Linked DNA regions of Homo sapiens: all the other regions are linked to region 1. The links are contacts of gene promoters, found by promoter capture Hi-C in blood cells and fetal thymus (Javierre and others, 2016). All regions are on one chromosome and are shown on one strand. Each heading gives the region's core, a stretch centred on a gene start or on the middle of the fragment in contact. The rest is flanking DNA. Distances are from core to core; before and after follow the strand shown. Region 1 holds the start of NXPH1 (neurexophilin 1). Region 2 overlaps LOC105375149 (a long non-coding RNA gene). Region 3 overlaps LOC105375149 (a long non-coding RNA gene). Region 4 has its middle 390 kb from the start of MGC4859. Region 5 has its middle 420 kb from the start of MGC4859. Region 6 has its middle 370 kb from the start of MGC4859. Region 7 overlaps LOC105375149 (a long non-coding RNA gene).

The links. Contacts are between HindIII fragments. The CHiCAGO score rates a contact against its expected background, and 5 or more counts as called.
Region 2: a fragment that was not itself captured here is called in contact with the fragment with the promoter of NXPH1 in region 1 in 1 of 17 cell types (endothelial precursors); the score reaches 6.1 in endothelial precursors.
Region 3: a contact is called between a fragment that was not itself captured here and the fragment with the promoter of NXPH1 in region 1, in 1 of 17 cell types (endothelial precursors). The highest score is 6.5, in endothelial precursors.
Region 4: a fragment that was not itself captured here is called in contact with the fragment with the promoter of NXPH1 in region 1 in 5 of 17 cell types (endothelial precursors, M2 macrophages, M0 macrophages and 2 more); the score reaches 8.1 in endothelial precursors.
Region 5: a fragment that was not itself captured here is called in contact with the fragment with the promoter of NXPH1 in region 1 in 2 of 17 cell types (M2 macrophages and M1 macrophages); the score reaches 7.6 in M2 macrophages.
Region 6: a fragment that was not itself captured here is called in contact with the fragment with the promoter of NXPH1 in region 1 in 5 of 17 cell types (endothelial precursors, total B cells, megakaryocytes and 2 more); the score reaches 8.0 in endothelial precursors.
Region 7: a fragment that was not itself captured here is called in contact with the fragment with the promoter of NXPH1 in region 1 in 1 of 17 cell types (endothelial precursors); the score reaches 8.7 in endothelial precursors.

What each region holds. Positions count from the first base shown.
Region 1 is chr7:8,432,276-8,434,975 of GRCh38, forward strand. It overlaps NXPH1 (neurexophilin 1), which reads left to right and starts at 1,334. Exons shown (of 3, transcript NM_152745.3): 1 at 1,334-2,480. RefSeq lists enhancers at 1,898-2,445, 2,446-2,700. The HindIII fragment of the contact is 6,580 bases long and covers 18-2,700 here.
Region 2 is chr7:10,115,683-10,118,382 of GRCh38, forward strand. The region is part of intron 1 of LOC105375149 (a long non-coding RNA gene); the gene reads right to left. Among named protein-coding and RNA genes, the nearest start is that of MGC4859, 660 kb to the right of the region's middle. The HindIII fragment of the contact is 6,290 bases long and covers 1-2,700 here.
Region 3 is chr7:10,085,831-10,088,530 of GRCh38, forward strand. LOC105375149 (a long non-coding RNA gene) reads right to left here. Exons shown (of 3, transcript XR_001745088.2): 3 at 1,420-2,700. Among named protein-coding and RNA genes, the nearest start is that of MGC4859, 690 kb to the right of the region's middle. The HindIII fragment of the contact is 1,506 bases long and covers 548-2,053 here.
Region 4 is chr7:10,392,459-10,395,158 of GRCh38, forward strand. No RefSeq gene overlaps it. Among named protein-coding and RNA genes, the nearest start is that of MGC4859, 390 kb to the right of the region's middle. The HindIII fragment of the contact is 1,297 bases long and covers 731-2,027 here.
Region 5 is chr7:10,354,482-10,357,181 of GRCh38, forward strand. No RefSeq gene overlaps it. Among named protein-coding and RNA genes, the nearest start is that of MGC4859, 420 kb to the right of the region's middle. The HindIII fragment of the contact is 5,988 bases long and covers 1-2,700 here.
Region 6 is chr7:10,413,298-10,415,997 of GRCh38, forward strand. No RefSeq gene overlaps it. Among named protein-coding and RNA genes, the nearest start is that of MGC4859, 370 kb to the right of the region's middle. The HindIII fragment of the contact is 8,177 bases long and covers 1-2,700 here.
Region 7 is chr7:10,136,161-10,138,860 of GRCh38, forward strand. All of the region lies in intron 1 of LOC105375149 (a long non-coding RNA gene), which reads right to left. Among named protein-coding and RNA genes, the nearest start is that of MGC4859, 640 kb to the right of the region's middle. The HindIII fragment of the contact is 200 bases long and covers 1,339-1,538 here.

The DNA.
Region 1 (2,700 bases), core at 84-2,583:
AGGATGGAATTAGACAAAGCTTTTTTTGCCCCTGCTTTGACCATTTGGCCTCAGATACGGGTGCCCCAATACTTTAATTTTTCTTCTTTAAAGTTTAAAGTTTTTAAGAAAATGAAATAGCTGGTAAGTGAAAATAGTCAAGAAAACATTGTAATTATGCTATATGTACATGTGCGTTTTTTCTGAAGTGGATTTTCAGAGACACAGTTAGAAGGTGTGCTTCACTGCTTTATTCTGCATATGCCCCAATGAATTCCAGGAGGTCACAGCAGCAGAGTACAACTTTTAAGATTAGAAGAGCTTGCTCTTTAAAGAGTTATTTTTAGCTGGAAGGGAGAGTGTAGACCTCAAAGTGCTGGTAGGTATGTTCTACAGTGGGGATCTAATTTGGAGGTCTTTGGAGATCTGATTCCAGGGGAAGGTCTCAGTGGGGCTCCTCTTGCCTCTGCTGCAGGACTGGGTGGCTCTGCTGATTGTCACTGCCTTGTTTGAGGGGTGGTCTCCATCATCCAGGGGAATTCAGCCTGGGACCTATTGTCTAGAGTGTACATTGTATCTAGGCCCAGACCTGCCAGAGTGTCCACAGCCACACTTGAGGAAAGGACATTCCAGACTCATTAAATATCACAATTCGATTTTGATGTCACTAACTCAGGTTCCTGAGATAAATTTCCATACAATTCCTACAGATTGATATGGATATGTGCATCACCCCAGGAGAGGCTCTGGTGAAGGGCAGGCTTGGAGATGCAATGGGCAAGGTTGGGGAAGAGATACCCTCTTCCGGGTTCCGATTTGTGCCCTGAATTTGGGCAAGCTCAAGGAGCACTGGCAACCCCACCAGCACCAGAAGAAGCTGGTCCTGGCTGTCTCCCGAGACTGGTGAAACTGCTCTGGTGGTGGTGCACTGGAAGGGTGGAGGAAAAAAAACAAAAAACAAAACAGGGTTTGAGGGGGAATGGCAGGGACACGGTAGAGGCACAGAGATACAGAGACCTAGAGTCAGAAATCCTGAGTGAGACACACAGAAAGGCAGAAAAAGGCAGAAAGATGCTGAGGGACAGAGACGCAGACCACAAGAATGACAGAAGAAGGAGACAGAGAGAGAGAGGGAGTGAGAAAGATACTGAGAAATAGGGACAGTAAGGGAGAGACTGAGAAAGACAGAGACAGCCAGAGTCGGAGCACAGAGGCCGAGTCTGGGAGACGCTGGTTGAGTGGGAGGTGTCAGTAGCGAGGGAGGTGGTGACGGCTCGAAGCATCCCCCGTCCTCCTCCTCCCCCTTCACGCTCAGCCCAGCCGGCGGCGAGGAGTCCAGAGGCCAAGGTCGCCCAGTCCTCTCGGCTGTCTCGAGCTGAATGGCTGGCAGTCTGCGGCTCCCCCGCCTCCGGCCCGGCAGCCACAGGTCGGAGGCGCCCGGCGTCGGCGCTCGAGGCCGGCAGGGGCGCCCTGCACCCTCCCGCGCCCTTCCCCGCCCTACGCGACTCCCGGCTGCTCTTCCCGCCACTCCCCTGGGCTTTGCGATCTTCCCTACGCCCCCCGGGAAGGGGGCGCTGCGGCCACCGAAGACACCGCGGGAGCCACTTGTCCCTGTGGGCCCAGCCCGCGAGAGCCTGAGAGCCGGATCTGTTTACACAGGGTACTAATTAGTCTTTGAGGAATCATTCACCCACGTGCCAAAGTAATTGTCCGTGTCAGGAAGGTAGGCGTGCCAAGCCGCGGCTCTGCGGAGAAACCACGACCACCGCGGCCGCCGGAAACCCAAAGCGCTCCAGAGCGTCCCCGGGTGGCCGGGCAGCACCAGGGACAGCGCCCGGGACTCCACTGGGGACCGGCTCCTGGGCTTCCCAGCGTCGCGGGTAGAGGTACAGCTGCTCCGTGTGCCGCAGGCTCCAGATTCTCGCCACCCCACCCCTCCCTCAGAAACTCGGACTGCTCTCGTCTGCCGTGTGGTTCTCTTTTCTTCCGAAAGGCCAGTGTCTTATCTCTCCACTTCAAGTCCAGAGGACTTGCTCAGTCTCCTCCCCTTAAGTCATTTCCACCATCCTCAGGCAGCTGTGGGAAGCCGAGAGTCCTGGACTGTTCGTCCGGGTGCCAGCGCTGGCAGTCCCAGTCCGTCCGGTGCAGCAGCCCGGCGCATTCCCCTCTCTCCCTCCCTCTTGCTCTCCCTCCCTTTCTGTCTTCCTCTCTTTCCTCCTCTACTGCTCCCTCCCTCTCTTGCCTCTTAAGTTTCCTGCACCGTGAATCCAACTGTGCCAAGCCTTGGCTCCCGCGAACCAATCCTGAGCGCGACCCGGGCACTGGGACGGCGACTCCGCCAAAGCTGGACGAGGCAGCCGGACCCGTCTGCGCTCGAGCATGGAGACGGAGCGCCTGGGAGGGCACGTCCGGGGCGCTGGAGACGCCAGGCCCGAGTAGCTTCTCCATGGAGCCTGCCCAGAGCGGTCCCTTCTCGCAGGATTCGCCCCAAGTCCTGTGCGGTACGTACCCTTTGCCTCCGCTGTTCCCGGAGGGTACACCTGGGAGCGGGGTGGTGGGCACGAGGAAGGGACGGCAGGGAGGGGCGCTGGTTAGGAAAGAGAACAAGCCTGGCAGGTGACCCTCACAGCTCGGAGGAGGCTTCTTCTCTAGAAGTTAGCGACCGGCTGTACCCTTTGGCTCGAAAAAAGTAGTGCTAGAGATGTGACTGTGAGCATTCGT
Region 2 (2,700 bases), core at 154-2,653, 1.7 Mb after region 1:
CTTTTACTTAGGGTTACTAAGTTACAATTTTTTGGTCAAAATATTGTGGACAACAAATGATACATCCCTTAACTCAATTCCTTAAAAATGTCTCATTATTTTTACTTTTCGGTACAGTCTGAGAAAAAAAAATTGAACTACATTTAGTTTAACTCTAGAATATAATAAAAAGAATTAGCTTCAGGCTATAGAGACACAACCACAACTAAGAAATTGCCTTAGAACACAGATTAAAGAGAAAGTTCTTATTGGGGCATATTCAACATAGTGATTTGGAGAGAAGAGTCAGAGACAAAGACAATGATAGGCCTTGCAGTAATAGTTATTGAAAAAAATGTCAATAAAATACACCTATTACATCGAAAGATGTTGAGTCTATCTGTAACTCAGACTTCCCATCTTTGATATGGTAGATGCAACTCACCCAATTGCAGGCTCGCTAATATAACACTTCATGATAGTTAATAAAATATTCATTAAATGTTTTAATGATTTTAATCTTCTCTGCTTTCTACCCTTTTCTATGAGAATTAAGCGAAAGCCAGACTGTACTGCAACACTTTTCTGGAAACTTCCTTCTAATTGCCCATACCCAAATAGCAAAATGTTTCAAATCAAAATATAGTGAAATCCTTGATTATTAAGCTATTAAATTATTGAATTATATGTATCACATCTCAATTGAGTAAATATTCATGTTTTGCAATCAAATTGTTCTATACCAAACAGGCACAGATATAGCTATGTAATCTGCTTATATGACTATGCTGGCATGTATTTAATAGCCTTTGGAGGAAAAACATGTAAAATTGAATGATTTTAAAATAAGTTAATTTTGCTCATTAATTTTTTTTTTTTTTTTTTTGAGATGGAGTTTCGCTTTTGTTGCCCAGGATGGAGTGCAATGGCGTGATCTTGGCTCACCGCAACCTCCACTTCCTGGGAATGCGTCACCACACCCGGCTAATTTTGTATTTCAAGTAGAGGCAGTGTTTCTCCATGTTGGTCAGGCTGGTCTGGAACTCCCAACCACAGATGATACACCTGACTTAGCCTCCCAAAGGGTTGGGATTACAGGCATGAGTCACCGCACCTGGCTTCATTAAAAATTTTTGTGGAAGTTTTGTTTCCTTTTCAAACACTTAATCCCTGAAGTCACAGCAAGCAAAATAGAACATGAGTGGTAGTAAATGTATAATCATGGGATGCTAGGTACTTGTGGCATAAATAGGTTGTATTATATCTAGTGGACCTGTCTCAGTTTTCTTTGCTGAATCCTAAGTTAGAACATTATTTTCCTCTCTCAACATGAAAAAGTAGAAGAAAAAATATACAAGGAAGGGAGAATGAGAGGAAATAAAGAGGAGAAGAGGAAGGCCAAGTGCTTCTTCCTTATAGCAGAACTTTAAGACTTTACAGCCTCTTGAGTCTTTTTTTGTCTAATTTTTAAATTTTCTTTACCTTCTCATTACATTCCGAGTCTCTTCATATTCTGTTAATTTATTTCTTTCTTTCCTTCTCTCTCTCTCCTCTTTCTGTCTCTCTCCCTTTCCTTCCTTCCTTTCTCTTTCTTTTCTTTTTCTTTCTTTCTCTCTCCCTTTCTTTTTTTCTTTCTTTCTTCTTTCTTTTTTCCTTTCTTTCTTCTTTCCTTTCTTTCTTCCTTCTTCTTTCTTTTTTTTCAAAGACAAATCCTCACTATGTTGCCCGTGCTGGTCTTGAACTCCTGAGCTCAGGTGATCCTCTGCCTCAACCTCCCTGGTAGCCAGGCCTACAGGGGAATGTCACCATGCCTCCCTATATTTTCATGAAGTTATTTCAATAGTCCAAATTTCTCTTAAAATGTTACATGGTGAAACCGTGTCTCTACTAAAAATACAGAAATTATCCACGTGTGGTGGCAGGTGCCTGTAATCAGAGCTACTCGGGAGGATGAGGCAGGAGAATCGCTTGAACCTGGGAGGTGCAAGTTGCAGTAAGCCGAGATCCCACCACTGCACTCCAGTCTGGGTGACAGAGTGAGACTCCATTTCAAAAAAAAAAAAAAAAGCGATGCCTATAACTAAACAAAATATTTGAGGAATGAATCTATCTTTAAAACTTTTGAATCTTCTTTATTGTCTCCACATATGTTTCTTCTATAAAATTTAAGCAGTGCAAGTGCACTTTTGTTACATGGATATAGTGTGCAGTGGTGAAGTCTGGGATTTTATCACCAGAATAATGTACATTGTACTCACTAAATAATTTTTCATCCCTCAACCCTCTCTTACTCTCCCACCCTTCTGAGTCTCCAGTGTCTATTATCACACACTCTATGTCCATGCTCTCACTTCTAAGTGAGAATATGTGGTATTTGACTTTCAGTTTCTGAGTTGTTTCACTTAAGACAATGGCCTCCGGTTCTATCCATGTTGCTGCAACAGACATGATTTCTTTTTTTATTTTTTATTTTATTTATTTATTTATTTATTTATTTTGTGGCTGGGTAGTATTCCATGGTGACTGTATGTGTGTGTGTCACATTTTCTTTACCCAATCATTATTGGACACTTAGGTTGAGTCTGTATATTTGCTATTTTGAATAGTGCTACAATAAACATAGAAGTGCAGGTATCGTTTTTATATAATGATTTCTGTTCCTTTGTTAGATACCTAGTAGTTGGATTGCTGGATCAAATGGTAGTTCCATTTTTAGTTCTT
Region 3 (2,700 bases), core at 51-2,550, 1.7 Mb after region 1:
TATGAGGGATTAGAGAGGCTTTGGGAGAGAATAATATAGAGGATGAAAGAGAATGAAGAGTGGAAAATAATTGTTGAAATAGGAACCAAATGCCTACAATGGGGATTTAATGCAATGATTGTGCAGTGTGTCATTACTTCTAGGTCTTCTTTTGCGGATGCTGGAAACTAAACCCTGAGCCTGCCCCTCAATGTGGATACAGAAGAAAGTAGACTATTCACAGGGAGATTCAATGTAAAATGCGTACATTAGCCGTAATTAATGCTCTGATCAATTCATGAAATATTATTAAACACTAATGGCAGACATAGAGAGGTTTTACAATTACATAGGTAAATATAATAGAGCCCTTCCCTACCTTTGTATGAATAACAGGCATGAATATAACAGAGGGAGTTTAGGATACATGACCTCAAAATATTTTAAGCTGAAGGAATTTATGCAAAGGAGGAGATGTCTCTCTAACCTTCCCACTGCCCTTCCTTCCTGAAGCAGTTCATAAAAGCTGGGAAGGGTTTTCTAGCGTTCTCTTAAAATAGGTTATAAAAGCTTCATGTGAGAGGTGCTCTCCCTATATCCAGAGAAATGAGCATTTTTGTCTTTGAAGACTCAAGGGCATAGAGAAGCATCTGAGTCAGCAGACTCTGATATGTTTCCCTCAGTTTACTCCCACTAGATCATATTCCATTTTATCATATTTCTCCGTGACTCTGCATTTTACATCAAACATAGCATAAAAATATGCAGGTTTGACTGTTTCTTTTGGTCTTTCCTTACAAAGGCTCCAATGTCACTTAAAACTTATAATAAATACAATCATCCCTCAATATCCATGGGAGATTGGTTCCAGAACACCTAAGAATACCAAAACTTAAGGGTGCTCAAATCCCTGTTATAAAATGGCACATAATCTATGTACATCCTCTCATACACCTTAAATAATCTCTAGATTACTTATAGTTTCTAATACAATATAAATGCTATACAAATAGTTGTTATACTGTATTGTTTTTATATACATTATTTTTATTGTTGCATTGCTTTTTATGCATTTTGAATATTTTTGATTCATGGTTGATTCAATCTGTGGGTATGAAACCCACAGATATGGAGGGTAGACTGTAAATCTGCTTGCTTTTCTCTTGTTAACCTGTCTTTTGTTGTAGAAGCCTCAGTCATGAACCTAAAATCTTTTACCTGGGTAAAAGAAAAGCAATTGTCCTCCTTTATATCATCATAAACTGACCTGGTTTTGAAGATAGACAAATATACAAGGTTATGGAAAGACAGAAAAAAAGCAACTCAGACTTACTGAGGAGATCAGGAAAATATCATAGAAGGCTGCAGGGGAGGAACAAATTCCTCTATGCTTTTATTAATGGCTGGAGGATCAGTGTATTAAACTAACAAGCAGATAAACAAAAGAAAAGGCTTACATATTTAATTTTTAATTTTACATGCACTATGGCATCATTAAAAAAAAGTGAATACCAAAATGAGAAGCAAGATTTGGAAACTTGTATGCTACCTTAATAGCGGAAAGGGTAGGGGATAAAAGCCACTTATGGGAGAGAAAAATAAATTTTAGGAAATACAAATGGGCCCTTATGAGAATAAATGGGAGACAGAGTTTGTGGCAATGACTGTCTAGGTTTGGTGCAAACTTCTCATCTCTTTTCCTATGACAAGAGTCAATTTTCCCTGGTCAATGAAACTTCCAGGGAGGGAATTTGGACAGTTTAAATTTTTTTTTTTTTGGAGGATATATTTTCAGGCAGATAAGGGGAGTTCGCAGAAAGCCTCTTCCTGCGTTTGTTGATTCTCAAATGTCTTCAGCTCAAGATAATCCTTACGGCACTGTGGCATATTCTGTACCCTTTCAAGGTCAGATTAAGTTCACTTGTAGTAAGAGAACTGTAGACCAGATGAGTTAAAGAAACAAAGATAGAGAAATGGATATGGTGCATGTAGAAGGATTCCAAAAAATGAGAAAGACATAAGAATGAATGTGTGAAAGCCTTCACAAAGTTAAATTTCATAGAGTGATTATGCAAGCTTTGAGCACATAACACAAGCATCAAACTGTCAGAAGATGAGAAAAAGTCAAATAAGAATAGATTACTAAAGGCTTTGTGCAGCGTGCTTCACAGTCTGGACTTCAATTCTTCATAAACAGACATAATAATGAAACAAAATGAGTTGTGGATCATGGGCTAAACCTATGACCACAAACAGGAGAGAGAATCTTGAGCAATGCCCTCCTGCCAATGCATGTAGAAGAAGGAAGTATCTTGATGAGGTTCAGGACACACTGTTCCAAAAGATGGCACCTTGACATACTGAATAGGTGAAGGAATTTGAGGAAATCACAGAAGCAGGAAGGTGATTCAGATCTTTTCTTGTTCACCTTCCCTGCAGCCGGTCATAAAAAGTAGGGAGGATTTTCTGAGCTTCTCTTGAAACAGTTTATGAGACCCTCGTTTGAGAGGTGACCTCTCTATAACTGGATAAATGGGTATAGGCAGAAATACCCATTTTTGTCCTGTTACATTTTTCTGAGAGTCTCTGAGATTCTTCATCAAATTTAGCAAAAGAAAAAGAAATTCATCAAATTTAGCAAAAGAAATACTCAGATTTCACTGTTTCTTCAGGACTTTATTTCCTTACATAGGCTCTCATGCATGTAAAACATATTCAATA
Region 4 (2,700 bases), core at 129-2,628, 2.0 Mb after region 1:
CGTAAAATCCAGTAGCACGTGTTTTTTACGATAGTGGAGGAAAAAATGATTATACAAAACATACATAAATTATGTTCTTATATAAAAAAGTAGACTATTCAATTTGCTTGCTTTTAATATATTCATAAAATTAAAGAAAATGAGTACAACAAATGCTGAGTTGTTAGCTTCCATTTAAAAGACTTAATTCAGAGCTTCAGGAAATTTACTTGTAAAATTAAATTGGATGAGTAATGTAAATGAACTGAAAATTCCAGTAAAGATCATAAATAAAATAGTATAGCTGCAGTTTATCAACTTGAATGGAGTCAGAAATTGGAGTCCACAAAGTGTGACAATTTGAAATAGCCTTATTTAACACTTATATTTAAAGATGTGAATTATAATATCATAATTGTACCTAAATTTATGTATCTATTTGTAATTCTTATACATTTTTGCTAAATTTTTATGTATTTTAACAGCTGAAGAGGCATAAATAAGTAAATAAAATAAATAAAATTTGGAAAATAGTTCACATATATATATATATTTTATCTTTGGAAGTTGCCAGGAATCTTTAGAGCCAAAGCCTATGAAAAGTAATGAATGACAGGGATTCAAACTTCAATAATTATGATAAGCCCTAGCAAGCAAAAGAACTCTATTGTCAGTATCATATTTATTTCTAATTATTTTAACTTATCTGGAACTTATAGCCTCATTTCTAAGGATAACCAGTACAGTTATAAGCTTGTTATCCATGTCCCTCCATATAAACTGCTGAAAGGCATTTACAGTCATAGGTCAATGCATGGCCACCAATTTCAGCACTTAACAGAGTGGAATAATCATTAACCTCTCTACAACTGCTAATTTGACTAAATTAACTTAATAGTAATTAGCTCTAACCATTCAGTTTAGTCAAATTGGGTGATGATTCATCCCAAAAATGTGAACATTATACATCCTTGACCTTTCATCTTTTTATTTTAAATATTCTCCCCCATGTGATGCATGTTCACCTTCATCATCTATAAGCTGATGACTCACAGATCAAAATCTTCAGTTTGGATGTCTCTCCTACATTCAGTTTCATAATAAACAATTTCCCAAGCATGTCTGACAAACACCTCAAACTCAACTAGTCCAAAGGAAAGCTCAGGTTTCTTCGAAGGAGGGGTCAGCTTTATTCAGGTATTATTTTTTATATATATATATATATATATATATATATATATATAATATATATATGTTATACGTAATATATTATTACATAATAATATATTATAATATATAACAGATATATATTATATGTTATATTATACATAATTATATATAATAAAATATACCAATTTTAAGTGTGTAACTTGATGAGCTTAGAAAAATATAGATTATGATAATATAGAACATTCTCAAGACACCAAAATGTTCCTTCTTGTCCCAATCCCCTGGCAACTGTGGATCTGCTTACTATCATTAGAGGTTACCTCTTCCAGAATTTCATATGAATGGAATTATACAGGAGGTAGTCTTTATTGTATGACTTCTTACATGTAACATAATGCTTTTGAGATTCATAATGTTGTGTTTAGTTGCAGTTCGTTCCTTTGTATTGAAAAGCAGTATTCCACTGCATGGATGAATTACAGTTTGTTTATCCATTCAGCAACTGACAAGTTTTTTTTTTTTCAGATTTTGACTATTATGAATATAGTTTCTAGAAATGTTTACATGCAGGTCTTTTTATGTATCTTGGGTAAATAACCAGGAGTAAAATTACTGGGTAATATGGTAAGTATTATGTTAAACTTCAAAAGACACTGTCCACATGTTTTCCAAGACGACTGCATCTTGCATTCCCAATAGCAATGCATGAAAGTTCCAGTTGCCGCATATCCTTGTTAACACTTGAAATAGTCAGATTTTTTCATGTTAGCCATTTCAGTTAATGTGTTTTGGTATCACATTATGGGTTTAATTTGCATTTCCCTAGTGACAAGTGTATTTATTTGCCAAACATATGCCCTCTTCAAGTATTTCACCCAAGCTTATTGTCTTGTCTTCCTATTTTTGAGCTATAAATGTTCTTTACATATGTTGGATGTAGACATTGCAAATATTTTCACCCAGTCTATGGTTTGACATTTCATTTTTTAAGTGCTTTTGAAGAAAAAAATATTTCAATTTCTATAAATTTCAATGTATTATTTTTTATTGTATAGATTTTGCGTTTATATGATTGTTCTATTAGAAACAAAATGCCTAACTCAAGGTCACAGAGATTTTCTTCTATGTTTGCTTCTAGAAGATTTTTAGTTCTTTTGCTCTCATTTTAGATTAATGACTTAGGTTAATTTTTGTACATGATGTGAAGCAAGAATCAAAGGGGTGTGTGGGTGTGTTTATGTGTGTATCCAATTGTTTCAACACCATTATTTGCAAAGATCACTTCCATATTGAATGCCCTTGGAAATGTTGTCAGTAATTAATTGGCCACAAATTTGCAGGTGTATTTCTTTCTTTTCTTCCATTTTTTTTTTTTTTCCAGAGTCTCGCTGTGTCACCCAGGCTGGAGTGCAGTGGCACGATCTCAGTTCACTGCAACGTCCGCCTCCCGGGTTCAAGTGGTTCTCATGTCTCAGGCTACTGAGTAGATGGGACTACAGGTGAGGGCTCCCGCACCTGGCTAATTTTCTTTCTTTTTTTTTTTTTTTTTTG
Region 5 (2,700 bases), core at 96-2,595, 1.9 Mb after region 1:
TGAGTTCAATTGTTATAATTTTTAGATTCCATGAATAAGTGAGAATATGCAATGTGTGTCTTTCTGTGCCTGGCTTATTTCACTTAACATGATGACCTCCAGTTTTATCCATGTTGTTGCAAATGACAGAATCTCATTATTTTCTATGTTGAACAGTACTTCATTGTGTGTTACTGCCAGATTTTCTTTATCCATTCATCTGTTGATGAACATTTAGGTTGCTTTCAAATCTTGGCTATTGTGAACAATGAACTGAAAAGTCTGCTGCAGACATACGAGAGTTCAATTGTATACTATTTGTTTCTTTTCTCTTGCTGCTTTTAGAATCGTTTCTTTATCCTTGATCTTTGGGAGCTTGATTATTACATACCTTGAGGTAGGGTTCTTTGGTTTAACTCTGCACAGTGTTAAACTTAAACTTCTTGTACTTAAATATTGACATCTTTATCTAGGTTTGGGAAGTTCTTGGACATTATCCCTTTGAATAAACTGTCCACCACATCTCTTTCTGTACCTGATATTTAAGGCTATTAACTCTTAAACTTGCCCTTTTGAGGCTCTTTTCTAGATTTTGTATGCATGCTTCAGTGTTTTTTATTCTTTTTCCTTTTGTCTCCTCTGATTGTATATTTTCAAACAGCCTGTCTTCAGGCTCACTACTTGTTTCTACTTCTTGAAAAATTGTGCTGTTAAGAGAATCTGATGGATTCCTCAGAATGTCAATTGCATTTTCCAACTCTAGAATTTCTGCTTGGTTCTTTTTAATTATTTCAATTTCTTTATTAAATTTATTGGATAGATTCTGAATTCCTTCTTTGTGTTTCCTCAAAACTACTCTGAAGTCTCTGTCTGAAATGTCATATATCTCTGTTTCTCCAGGACTTGTCCCTGGTGCCTTATTCAGTTTATGTGGTAAGGTCATGTTTTCCTGGATAGTGTTAATGCTTGTAGATGCTCATCAGCATCTGAGAATTGAAGACTTAGATATTTATTGTAGTCTTCATAGTCTGGGCTTGTTTGTCCTCGTTCTTCTCAGGAAGGTTTTCCAGGTATTCAGAGGGACTTAGGCCACAAGCCCAATAATGCTGTGGTTTTTGCAGACTTGTAGAGGTATTATTTTGGTGGTCTTGGAAAAGATCTGGAAGAGACTCATGTTCTTTTCTCTTACTTTTTCCAAAATAACAATAAAAATAACAATAATAATAATACAGAGTTTTCTTTCTGTGCTGAGCTGCCTGGAACTGGGGATGTGATGATGCAAGCAACCCTGTTTCCCCCACCAGTGGGACTATGCTTAGTCAGATGTGAGGCCAGCACAGCACTAGGCCTTGCCCAGAGCCCTTCCCCCTTCAGGGTGGCAAGTTTCCCCAGGTCACAGGCATATCTAGAGATGCTGTGTGGGACCCAGAATTTGGAGTCAAAAATGTTAGAAATTCGATACAACTGGGTAAGCTGGCACTCAAACCACATTACAAAGTTTTTCTCACTTTTTCTTCCCCTTTCTACAGGCAGAGGAGCCTCTTCCTGTGGCCAGAACCACTACTGGTTTATGGGGGGTTCTGCCAGGCCACTGCCAATGTTAGCTTAAAGCCCAGGGGCTCTTCTCTCAGCTTGTGAATGCTGCCAGGCCTAGGACTCACCATTCCGGGCAATGGGCTCCCTTCTAGCCTAGGATAGGTCTAGAAATGCCACCCAAGAGCCTATTCCTGAACTTGGGACTCCAAGAGCTGCTTGTTACTCTACCCCATTGTAGCCAAACTGTTACCTAGGGTGCAAGACTTTTCCCTCTGCTTTCCTCAAACAGAAACAGTCTTTCACCATAGCTAGGTGGGAATGTGCTGAGTCTCTCCTGAAACCAGTATGTCTCAGAACCCAAGTTTCCACAGTGTGCTTCTTGGGTATTACTGGTGGATTTCAGGGCCCAAGAGCTCTTTAGTCAGAAGATAATTAATCTCGCCAGGACTTGGTCTTTCTCTTCAAGGCAGTGGGGTACCTTTTGGCCCATGATGCGTCTAGAAGTGTCTCCTGGGAGCTGGACCTGGAATGGGGACCTCCTGACTCTGCCCAGTGCCCTGTTCTACTATAGCTGAGCTGGTATCCAAGATGCAAGACAAAGTCCTCTTTACTCTTTGCTCTCCTCTCCTTAAGCAGAAAGAAGAGGTCACTTTTGTTGCTACATGCTGCACTAGCTGAAGTCAAGGGAGGGTGCAAGCATTCCCTTAGTCATGCCAGCTGGTATCTCCCTAGGTCACATGCCACCTTAGTTCACTGGTTGTAATCCCAGTCTAGCACTAGGAGTTACCTAGGAATTACAATTCTTGTGTCCTGGACTCCCTTTGAAGTGTACCTAGGACCCCAGAGGATGTCAGTTCATGGTGGCAAGGCTTGCCAAGAAACTAAAGTTCTGATTTGAATGGGTGAATCCTCTATGGCCAAGGCTATTCCAAATGCTCCCTCCATGCACTGGTACCAGCTGAACCCAGCAGGGCTTTATTCTCAACTATGACAGGACAGCACTGAGTTGTGACAGGCAGTACCTAGTCACTATACTTTCCTCTCAAAAGTGTACAGATTCTCTCTCCATTCTGCATGGCCACTGCCAGGAGATGAGGGAGGAGCAATGTTAATGATTCACCAGTGCCTCTCCTGTCATCCTCAATGCCTTTTTAAATATGAACTTAAAGCCAGGTACTGTGATTG
Region 6 (2,700 bases), core at 127-2,626, 2.0 Mb after region 1:
TGTGAAATAATGTCAACCATTATAACAATACTGCTTTTAAAGTTATACAGTTATTTATTCTATATGTACTTTCTAATTTTTTAAATTGACAGAAAAATTATGTGTATTATTTTAATATATAACATGATGTTTATATAGACATATATATATATATCTATACACACACACATACACAAAAAAACACACCACATTGGGAAATGATGAAATCAAGCTAGTGAACATATTCATCACCTCACCTTTTTTGTGTATGATGAGAATACTTAAAATCTATTCTGTTAGCAATTTTCAAGTACTGTATACAACATATTATTATTTACTATAACATTAACTATGGCAAAAAGCACAATTACTTTTGCACACACCTAATATAATCATCATTTCATACAACAGATCTCCAGAACTTACCCCTCCTACCTAACTATAACTTTGTACCATCTGACCAACATCTCCCAATACTCCCTCCTACCCCCAAACCTCTGATAATCACTATTCTACTTTCTGCTTCTATGAATTTAACATTTTAGATTCTACATATAAGTGAGTCATATAATATTTGTCTTACTGTGTCCGGCTTATTTCACTTAGCGTAATGTCCTCTAAATTCATCCATATCATCACAAATGATAGGATTTCATTCTTTTTAGAGGCTGAGTAGTATTCTATTGTATATATATACCAATTTTCTGTATTTATTCATTACTTGATGGACACTTAAGTTGTTTTCCTATCTTGGCTATTGTGAATAATGCTTCACTAAATATGGGAGTGCGGATGTGTCTCTGACACACTGATTTCAATTCCTTTGGATATATACCCAGAGATGGAATTGCTACCCAAAACAATCTACAGATTCAATGCAAGCCCTATGAAAATATCAGTGACATGTTTCATAGAAACAGAAAAATAACTCTAAAATTCAAATGGAGCCACAAAAAACTCTGAAAGAAATCTTGAGCAAAACGAGCAAGGCTGGAGGCATTCTACTTACCTGATCTCAAAATCTACAGAGCTATAATCAAACAACATGATAATGACATAAAAACAGATATATAGAGCAATGTCACAAAATTGAGCCCAGAAATAAATCCATGCACTTATAGCCAACTGATTTTTGACAAAGGTGCCAAGAACATACAATGGAGAAAGGACAGCCTCTTCAGCAAATGGTGTCAGAAAAACTGGATATTCACATGCAGGAGAATAAAATTACACTTGTATCTCACGTGATAGATGAAAATCAACTCAAAATGGATTAAACACTTGAATTTAAGACTTGAAGCTATAAAACAACTAGAAAGAAACATGGGGAAATCGCCACAACATTGATATGGCCAGTAATTTCTTATATAAAACTCAAAAACCACAGGCAACAAAAGCAAAAATAGATAAATGTGGTTACATCAAACTAAAAGGCTTTTGCAAAACAATGGAAACAATAAATAGAATGAAAACACAACCTAAAGAATGGGGGAAAATATTTACAAATTATAATCTGATAAGGGGTTAACATTCAAAATATATAAGGAACTCAAATAACTCTATAGAAAAAAAATGGACAAGGGACCTGAACAGACATTTTTCAAAAAATATACAAATGGGCAACAGGTATATGAAAAAATGCTCAACATATTATCTGACAACTGTTAGAATGGTTATTACCAAAAAGATGAAATATAACAAATGTAGAGGATATGTGGAAAAGGGAACCCTAATATACTGTTGGTGGGAATGTAAATTAGTACAGCCATTATAGAAAACAGTATGGAGGTTTCTAAAAAATTGAAAATAGAACTACCATGAAATCCACTATAAATACATATTTTTAAGCAAACGCTTTGCATTCTAGGTAGGTACTCTGTTAGGTACTAGGGTCTTTCTTAAGGTAACAAATACCAAAAAGGCACTTCTCTTGTTTAAAAAAGGTACTTATCCAAATGCCTTTTCATTTCAATTGCTGATGATTCTCATGAAAGCAATTTCCCTTTCTCAATAAAATAAGTGACAATTGGAAGAATTGTGAAAAAACTGGAACCCTGTGACTTACCTTGCTATGGTTAAGGGATGCAGATAGAAATGGATAGAGTATCAAAAATTAGCACCATCCAGAGAGGTAGAGTGGTGAAAAGTGTGAAAATTCATGAGAAACCTAGCTCTTAATGATTTAACCACTCATAAGCTGGAAACTTGCTCAAGTCTCTTAACATTTTAGGCACTGTTTTCTCTTTGTTACATATCAAGAGGATTACACAAGGGGAGACTAGATGCACACATACTTAAGTTTCTTTTAAACTATAATATTCCACTAGTCTAATCAATTATTAATCATAACTTCATTTTTTAAGAAGTAGTATGATCCATTGTGACTTTCCTGGTAGAGCTTGACAGGGGAAACATAAAGCATCCTGATTTTCTATCAGCCCTCAGATCCCCACGGGATCTGCTGAGTTATGAGTGTTCAGTGCTCCTACCCTCACTTTCCAGCCTGAATCAGTTGTAAAGATATTTCTTTCTCTGGGACCACCCAAGGCCTTATGGTCAGAGTAGGAGGTCCAAATGTAGTATATGTCATCAAACATAATGCTTCCTTGTTAGAAAAGGGAGATGCAAGATATAGCAACTAATAGTCACTAACTTTATGGGGACTGTCTAAACTTGTTCCTGACAACTAGATCTTTAGAAGCTACCTGACCTTGTCACATG
Region 7 (2,700 bases), core at 189-2,688, 1.7 Mb after region 1:
GAGGGCAGAGGCCTCATGAATGGGATTGATGTCCTTTTAAAAAAGGCCCAAAAGAAACCCCTTGCCCTTTCTGCTATGTGAGGACAGAGCAAAAAGACTGCAGTCTTTGAACTAGGAAGAGGGCCCTCAACAGAGCTCAACCATGCTGCATCCTAATCACAGACTTGTAGCCTCCAAAAGAGTGAGAAATAAATTTCTGTTGTTTATAAGCCACTCTGTCTATGCTAATTCTTTAGCAACCCAAACAGACTAAGACAAGTGCTTTGTATTATCAAAACATACAGAGTCAAACTATACAAATTGATTAACTAAAATGTAGATTTGAAGGACAGTCTATAGGGCGACAAAGGAAAGCTGCTCTGTTTTGTGTCAATGAGCCAGGACCAATGGGCAAAGTTACAGAGTCCAATTTCAGCTTAGTGCAGTAAAAACAGCAGTTACAGCTGCCCAACAATATACCAGTTCCACTCTCAGAATAGCAACTGAATGATCACAGAGCATGGAAGAAGGAATCTGTGATCTGGAAAAGAAGTCAGACTCGAGTGCTGGAAGTTCTATGCCTTCTGGGAACTAGATCTATTAGAGTAAAATATCAGATCTGTACTCAATTATAACTATATTCTTGAACTTCAAGGTGAGACTTGAGATATATGTATATGTGTCTATTATTTTTTTCACCAAGTTAGACAATATTTTGTATTTAACCTTGCCACGTGTCTAGTATTTTTCTAGACCTATTACTTTTATATTTCTTCTCTGTACAGTATAATTTGTTCACTTTATCTTAAGTTTTAGAGTTTTTTACTGCCGCATTCAATTTATATATTTCATAACCACCAAATATAAAACTGCTTCACTTTTGACAACAAATTCATACCTATTCAGCTTAATTTTAAAAAATAAAATTAAACCCCTAAAGCTAGGATTTTACTTTGTAGAACTCTTATAAATCACAATTTTTTCCTTTTTTGTAGGATAACAGTTGATATATTTGTCAAGCTTTTTTTGTTGAGAATGAGTCTTGCTCTGTCGCCCAGGTTGGAGTGCAGTGACGCAATCTCGGCTCACTGCAAGCTCTGCCTCCTGGGTTCACACCATTCTCCTGCCTCAGCCTCCTGAGTAGCTGGGACTACAGGCACCTGCCACCACGCCCAGCTAATTTTTTGTATTTTTAGTAGAGACGGGGTTTCACTGTGTTGGCCAGGATGGTCTGAATCTCCTGACCTCGTTATCCACCCTCCTCAGCCTCCCAAAGTGCTGGGATTACATGCGTGAGCCACCGCGCCCGGCCTATATTTGTCAAGTTTTACAATCTCATCAAAGGCATATTTACTTTTAAGCTTTTAAGAACGTTCTATATGGTTAAGATTAACATAACTCTACTTATAATATTTGTGGGGAAAATAATTATAAAACAATTTTATAAAATTGCTGAAAAGAGAATGTGTTTTTCATTCAACAGAAACATGCAGTGAATTTGACTCACAATTCCTGCCTCTCCTCAATTAAAAACCTCTTCTTACATTTCCAGCCTACAAAGCTTCTCCTCCTTTACTTGTCGTTAATTATACCAGCATTTTCTCCTAGACTCTATTAATTGGTAGGTTCTAGGCTAGTAAAAGACCTCTGTCTATCCATTCACTTACTGTAACAGAGAGCTGACACAGAAAATTCAGATTAACATTCTAGTAAAAATGTTATTTAAACCAATACTTAAATTATTTTTTGGACAAAATTATCTACATAATTTTATTAATCCTATACTTCACAGAGCCAAGCAAAGTTATTGAATTGATTGGGAATGCATAGCTAAAAACAAAATGGAATTTGATTACCTATGAACCTCATTTAAAAAATAATAGCAGTGTTAACCCTATTTTGACTTTTACATGCTGAATATTTGTGTTCTCCCAAAATTTATGTTGACTGTAACCCCCAACGTGATGGTATTTGCAGGTGGGGTCTTTAGGAGGTAACTAGGTTGAGATGAGTTCCTGAAGGTGGAACCCCCATGATGGGATTAGCGTCATCTCAGTGTGCTGTCACTAAGAAAAGGCCATGTGAGGAGGTAACTGTCTGCAAGCCAGAAGCAGGGTCCTGACTAAGAGCCAAATCTGCCTGCACACTGATCATAGACTTCCCAGCCTCCAGAACCAAGAGAAATAAATGTCTGTTGTGTAAGCCAAGATAAGCGTTCTTTAGTTGGAAAGATTTTAGTCAGGCTTCTGAAACTTCTCCTAGGCCCATATATGCCCTTCCTTATAAAATCCAGTTTTAGCAAAAGAACCTGGCTAAATCAGTTTAGCCAGGACTCCCCATCCTCGATATCTGATTATCTTCAATATCTGATCAGATTCCTCCTCCTCTACCATCCCCCAGCTGATGTCTGATCATTGTGGCTTGTCTTTAGTAAAAATCCTGTTAACTTAATTTAGCCAGAACACCCCTGACCTCTGACATTTCCTCTTAGTAATTTTCCATCCACTGACTCTCACACTGCTCCTTGGCTAAAATTCCCACTTGTTCATACAGTATGCAGAGTTCAATCTCTCTCCTCAGCTTCAAGACTCTGTTGCAGTATTCCTTATAACTATCACAATGGTCCTGAATACAGTCTTCCTTACCATGCTTTAACAATTGTCATTGAATAAGTTTTTTCTATAACAACCATCCAGTCTATGATATTTCGTTTTAGCAGCC